Regions from separate parts of the Homo sapiens genome. Here region 2 is linked to region 1. The links are contacts of gene promoters, found by promoter capture Hi-C in blood cells and fetal thymus (Javierre and others, 2016). All regions are on one chromosome and are shown on one strand. The core of a region is centred on a gene start or on the middle of the fragment in contact, and the rest is flanking DNA. Distances in the headings are between cores, read along the strand shown. Region 1 overlaps ZER1 (zyg-11 related cell cycle regulator). Region 2 holds the start of DOLK (dolichol kinase).

Evidence for each region. The method cuts DNA at HindIII sites, captures the fragments that hold promoters and counts their contacts. A CHiCAGO score of 5 or more calls a contact.
Region 2: the fragment with the promoter of DOLK here is called in contact with a fragment that was not itself captured in region 1 in 1 of 17 cell types (erythroblasts); the score reaches 5.3 in erythroblasts.

The regions. Positions count from the first base shown.
Region 1 is chr9:128,729,868-128,732,648 of GRCh38, forward strand. It overlaps ZER1 (zyg-11 related cell cycle regulator), which reads right to left. Exons shown (of 16, transcript NM_006336.4): 16 at 1-1,527. The coding sequence ends at 1,470. The region is part of intron 1 of ZDHHC12-DT (ZDHHC12 divergent transcript); the gene reads left to right. Among named protein-coding and RNA genes, the nearest start is that of ZDHHC12-DT, 6.8 kb to the left of the region's middle. RefSeq lists enhancers at 1-532, 2,326-2,781. The HindIII fragment of the contact is 3,790 bases long and covers 1-2,781 here.
Region 2 is chr9:128,946,182-128,948,962 of GRCh38, forward strand. DOLK (dolichol kinase) reads right to left here and starts at 1,422. Exons shown (of 1, transcript NM_014908.4): 1 at 1-1,422. The coding sequence starts at 1,122. It overlaps NUP188 (nucleoporin 188), which reads left to right and starts at 1,518. Exons shown (of 44, transcript NM_015354.3): 1 at 1,518-1,570. The coding sequence starts at 1,539. RefSeq lists enhancers at 182-744, 745-1,306, 1,168-1,237, 1,307-1,868, 1,588-1,637. The HindIII fragment of the contact is 6,982 bases long and covers 1-2,781 here.

The DNA of each region.
Region 1 (2,781 bases), core at 173-2,672:
GGTGTGAAGTCTGCCAGGGTCTGGCCGGGGCCGCTGAGCGTGGGAAGGAAGGGAGCGCCGCATGCAGCCCATCTGCCAAGCTGGGGGAACACAGGGCTGCGCCCACTTCCCAGGGCCGGGAGGGAGAGGCTCCAGGAGAAAAAGGCCAGGTGTCTCTCCCAAAGCTGCTCACCCCTGCCGTCCTGCCTGGAGGCAGAAATGCTAGGAACACCTGAAAACAGGCCCGCGGGAGGAAAAGGGAAGAAAAAGCCATCACCCAAAGGCTGCCTCCAGGGTTAGCGCTGCTCCCCAGGCCCCTGCGCTCCACAAGTGTCCGATGAGAAGCAATGCAGTGTCCATCGATGGAGGAGCAAGAGAGCCGGCGCCTCTCAGGCTTCCAAGGTAAAGCCTAGGGCAGGGCGGGACCGCCAGGGAGGCCCAAGCGGCCACTGCAGGGCAGTCCGAGTGCTGGTCTGGAGGCGGCTGTGTGGCCGTTGTGGGTCAAAGGCTGTCATGGGACCTCTGCCTCTGAGAGGCGTGGGGTCCTCTGGGCAGCGGGGCAGGCTGGGAGGAGGAGGCAGGCTCAGTTCTGCTGGTGGGAGCGCCTGGGCAGTTGAGGGCTATGGAGCGAGGAAGCAAGCCCCTGGCCCCAGAAGATGCTAGCTTCCAGGGCTGAGGGCAGGTTCTGGATGTGTTTGGCAGAAGGGGCAGTGGAATCTGCCCCTGAGTTCTGACCATCCCTGGGCTGGGGCTTTCCACAGCCTGGGACCTGGTGGGAGACTAGGAGGCAGCCTCCATAGCAGCGTGGCCTCAGGCAGGCCTGGCTGGACAGCAGCAGGGCCACTGGGTGCCCTGCTCCTAGAGGGTCTTCAGGGGCAGGGCTGCCTGGACCTCAGCCTAGGAATGGCTCACTTTCCTGCCCCAGATGGCCCACAGCCGGGAGCACCAAGGCTTTTGGGAGACCCAGTGGGGTAAGTTCTAATCCCCAAACCCCATCAGCTGTGCCCGGGAGCCGAGATGGCGTTCTCAGGCAGGGGCAGTGGGTCAGGATGCTCGATACGCTGTCCAAGGCCTGCTCCTCTCATGAAAGGAAGCCAGGCCGGGATCTGAGTTTCCTGGACAAGGACTGGACACTCACAGCGTTATAGGCATTTAGTCTGGTTGGGGTAGGAGTGTGTGTGTCAGCGATGAAGGCTGAGTGGGTTTGAGAATGGCCAAGGAAGCTGCAAGGACTCAGGAGTGTTGCTTTTGTTTTTGCACAGAAATCATACACACAAAACTTCACACTTCCTAACCAAAAAAAAAATATATATATATAATATATATATATCTCACTAACATTAAGGAAAAGCGTCGGTTGTGCAAAAGTCCCCCATGTCTCTTCACTCCGTGGGAGGCTCCCTCGGAAGGGGCCCGCCCGCTGGGCTGCTTGAGCATGCTTCCTCCCCGCCTGTGGTCCAGAGCGGTGGCGGCCATGGGGACGGAGGCCTCTATCTAGACGTGTCCATGTTCTCCTCTTTAAAGTTACTGCAGTGCTCAATCACCTTGCTGGAGACAATGGGGGAGACAGGATTGGAGGGTGGGCTTGGGTGGGGGTGAGCCCAGCCCCTCCGAGATCATTAGGCAGCTGGGTAAACACGTGTTCATAGTGATGGTGATGCTGACCGAATGATGTGGACAGAGGGGCTGGCAGAGTGGCTGGCATGTGCAGGGGACTCAGGGAATGGCACCTGTGGCCGTGAATGCCATCACCAGCCATCCTCCGCTTCCTTCCTTTCCATGCCCCTCTTCTCCCACCCCCAGTCCCAGGGCATCTGTGGATAGGGGGTCCCCAAATCAGCTCAGGCCCGACCTCCAAAACCCTTTGGAAGTTTCTTTAGCGACCTCTTCTTCATTTTCCCTGCACACTAGACCCTTCTCTTTCCAGAAGTCCACCAGTGGTCCCCAAACTGACTGCACATCAGATTCCCCTAGAGGCCCGGATCCAGTGGCAGGTCCAGGGTCGGGCAGGGGCAGCTGTGCTCGCACAAGGGCCCCCACTACCCTGTGGCAGCCAGGGCTCAGCACTCCAGCTCAGATTTCGAGTCTCGCCCGCCCCAGCCTGACCCCTGCCACCCATCACTGTTGGTTGTCACCTTGGACCCCGGACAGCTTGCCCATTCAACACCAAGCCTGTGGTTTGGGGGCTTCACTGCAGCCTCTGTGTGTTAAAGGGATGCCCCAATACCTTTTAGGAAACAAATACCCAGAGTGGGAGAGAGGTCAGTGGACAGGCCGAGGGCCTTCTCCTAAGCATTGTCCAGGGTCATTTACTCCTTGCTGTCAGACAGGCCAGTGCCTCAGATTCCCATCACAGGCCTTGGAGAAATGTTCAAAGTGACTGTGGTAGGTAACTGGTCAGTCTTACCCAGTGCTTCTCAAATTTCCCGGGAATCCTTGTTAACCATGAAAATTCCAGGGCCACCTCCCACCTCCCGGATGTACTGGAAAAGAAAACCTAGGGGTGGGCCCCGTCCATTTATTTTTAAATTTTATTTTTTTGAGACAGAGTCTCGCTCTGTTGACCAGGCTGGAGTGCAGTGGCACCATCTCGGCTCACTGCAACCTCTGCCTCCTGGATTCAAGTGATTCTCCTGCCTCAGCCTCCCAAGTGGCTGGGATTACAGGCACGTACCACCACGCCGAGCTAATTTTTGTATTTTTAGTAGAGACGGGGTTTTACCATGTTAGCCAGGTCTCGAACTCCTGACCTCAAGTGATGCACCCACCTCAGCCTCCCAAAGTGCTAGGATTACAGGTGTG
Region 2 (2,781 bases), core at 172-2,671, 220 kb after region 1:
CTCCAGGAAGATGAAGACCGCCAGGCATACAGTGGCGGCTACATAGAGCAGTGGCCGGTCAAAGATGATACCTGGGATGTAGGTGGCTACCACAATGAGGTGGAAATACTTTCGGGCGATGGTGGGGGCCTGGTGCTTCTTGGACTCGGAAGATGACCGCTTGGCATTCTGGTACAGCACCACCAGGCAGGCCAAGGTGGCCAGCAGAGACCAATAGGCTAGGAGGTAGATGCGGGTGTCTGTCTGGAAGAGAAACTGAAGAAGCCAGAGCAGGGGATTCCTGCGGATGAGCCGGTGCAGCCAGGGTAGGACCACACCAAGGCTCAGCACACAGGTCATGAGGTGGAAGAAGATGGAGGAGGCCCAGGTGCCTGAGTCCATGAAGACAAACAGAGTGCTGAAGAAAATGCCCATGAGTACCATCCCTACTACCACCACCAGCAGGAAGAAGTCCACTGGGTCCCCCTGACTTTCCACCAGTGTCAGAGAGCGCTTGATGAGCTGGTTGAGGACAAAGCTAATGCCACCCAATACCAGCAGTGCCTCACCAGGGGTGAAGCAGCGGGGCAGCAGGTACAGCAGGATCATGTTGAGATAAACGAAGATCAGAAGGACTTCCAGGACTTCGATCACCTCCCCCACGCTCAACGAGTGCTTCATGATATAAATGATAACACCTCCAGCCAAGCCCAAGATGACACAAGTGTTGGTTGGCACTGGGCGAGTGATGCCGAGCGCCAACACTGATGAGAAGAGGGCCACTGCCATGCCAGTGGCTGCCACCACAATGCCAAAACGCTCAAAGAACGGGTTCCCAGCAGTCTGGCACCGCTCCTTCATGACTAGTCCAAGCAAAGGCATGACCATGGAGGCGGGCAATAGGCCACTGTTTGCGGACATTCGGAACTGGAAGACGGCGCTTCCCTGCTGTAGCAGCCGGTCCCACTTGTATTGGACGTAGAAGGCCTGCACTGCGAGGGCCACGGCGCACCACGAGTATCGGTCCCATACGGTTGCGTGGATGCTCAGCACCACTGCAAACACTACTGCCGCCTCTGCCAGCACCGATCCACTCAGCGGAGCCCCAGGCCCCGGGGCCGGAGATGGGCACTCTCGGGTCATATCTCTAGACCTGGGGCTTCACGGAGGCCGGGGCGACTACGGACGCCCTAGACTTCGGGCCCCTCAGCCCCGTCAAGCAGAGGGAGGCACTTTCACCCGGCCAGCAACCTTCTCCCTCCGTTCTCCAGCAGCGAGGAGGGAACTCCACCGCAGGTCACTTCTGCGGCCTGGGAGCTGGCGCCCGGCCACCCCCCACAGCCTCCAACCTACGGCGTAGACGTCGCCACTCTGCAGCCTTCCTCACAGTTACAGCCGCCCCCGCTGCCGGCTCCTCACCTCTTTGGGCCTCGCCATCTTGGCACCGCCCCGCGGCAACGTCACGTGACGAAATCCCCGCCCACGCTCCGGGTCCGGGGGCGAGCGGTCACGTGGGCATGGCGTCTGGGGGCGGGGTTAGGGCGAGCGGGCGCGCGAAGATGGCGGCGGCCGCCGGCGGGCCGTGTGTGAGGTGCGGAGCGGGTCGAATGGACCGGGGTGGCTGTGAAGCGCGGTGTCAAAGCCGAGCGGAAGCGGGGCGGGAATTGGAGGCGGGATGTGGCGACAGTGGCAGGGCCAACCCCGGCTGGATGGACGGGCACCGAGACGGGAGGCGGTTACGTCCAAACGGTCCCCGCGCGCGGGGATCTGAAGAGTCTTCTTCAGGAGGGGGGCCGGCTCTTCACCCCTTCCCTCCGCGCTCGGCCTCCCATCTCCTCACCCAGGGCCCTTTGCCTTCCTCCTCTCTCACCTCCGACGCGTCTCTTGGCGCCCCACCCGCGCTTCCTTCTCCGGCCGTGACGCTCCCTCGAGCCACGGGGAGCTTTGCGGTCTCCTGGGGTACCCCCCACCCACGTCCCTGCTGCAGGCTCCCAGTGTCCTGCCCCGGCGTCGAGTGCGCCCTGCTGGCTCCCCGACCTCTCCCGCGATCTGTTCTTGTTAGGATTTTGTTTCGCGTTGAGCGGAGCCACGCTTGCGGCTTCTGTCCTCTCCGCGCCTCGTATCGTTCTTTTCTTGCACTGAATCAAGTCAGCCAGCATGTCCAAATCCTCCAAGAGATTTCAGGGATTGAACTAGGCTTTAGGGACAAGAAGATGAAATATTATATACGAAAACTACAATTCTGACAAAGTGCTTTCTAGCGTCAGACCCTGGTGGAGCGCTTCCCAGGAGTTATCTCATTCAATTCTCGCAACTCCGAGAGGCGCCTTCTATTTCACAGATGACTCAGAAGTCCGGCTCAGAGCTAGCCAAGTGATAAAGAGAGCCTTCAAGCTGAAGTCTGCGTACCTCCAGTGCTATAACCAGACCACCACGCCTCCTTCTGTCTTCCACATTGCAGCTCGAAGGTCTTCGTTCTTCCCACCACCCTCCCTCAAAGTTAAACATCCCCGTCTCTTATCCTTCCCTGTGCCAGCAGTGTTTTCCCCACTTTTTTTTTTTTTTTTTTTTTTTTTTTTTTTTGAGACGGAGTCTCGCTCTGTCGCCCAGGCTGGAGTGCAATGGCACGATCTCGGCTCACTGCAAGCTCTGTCTCCCGGGTTCATGCCATTCTCCTGCCTCAGCCTCCCAAGTAGCTGGGGATACAGGCACCCGCCACAACGCCTGGCTAATTTTTTGTATTTTCAGTAGAGACAGGGTTTCACTGTGTTAGCCAGGATGGTCTCGATCTTCTGACCTCAT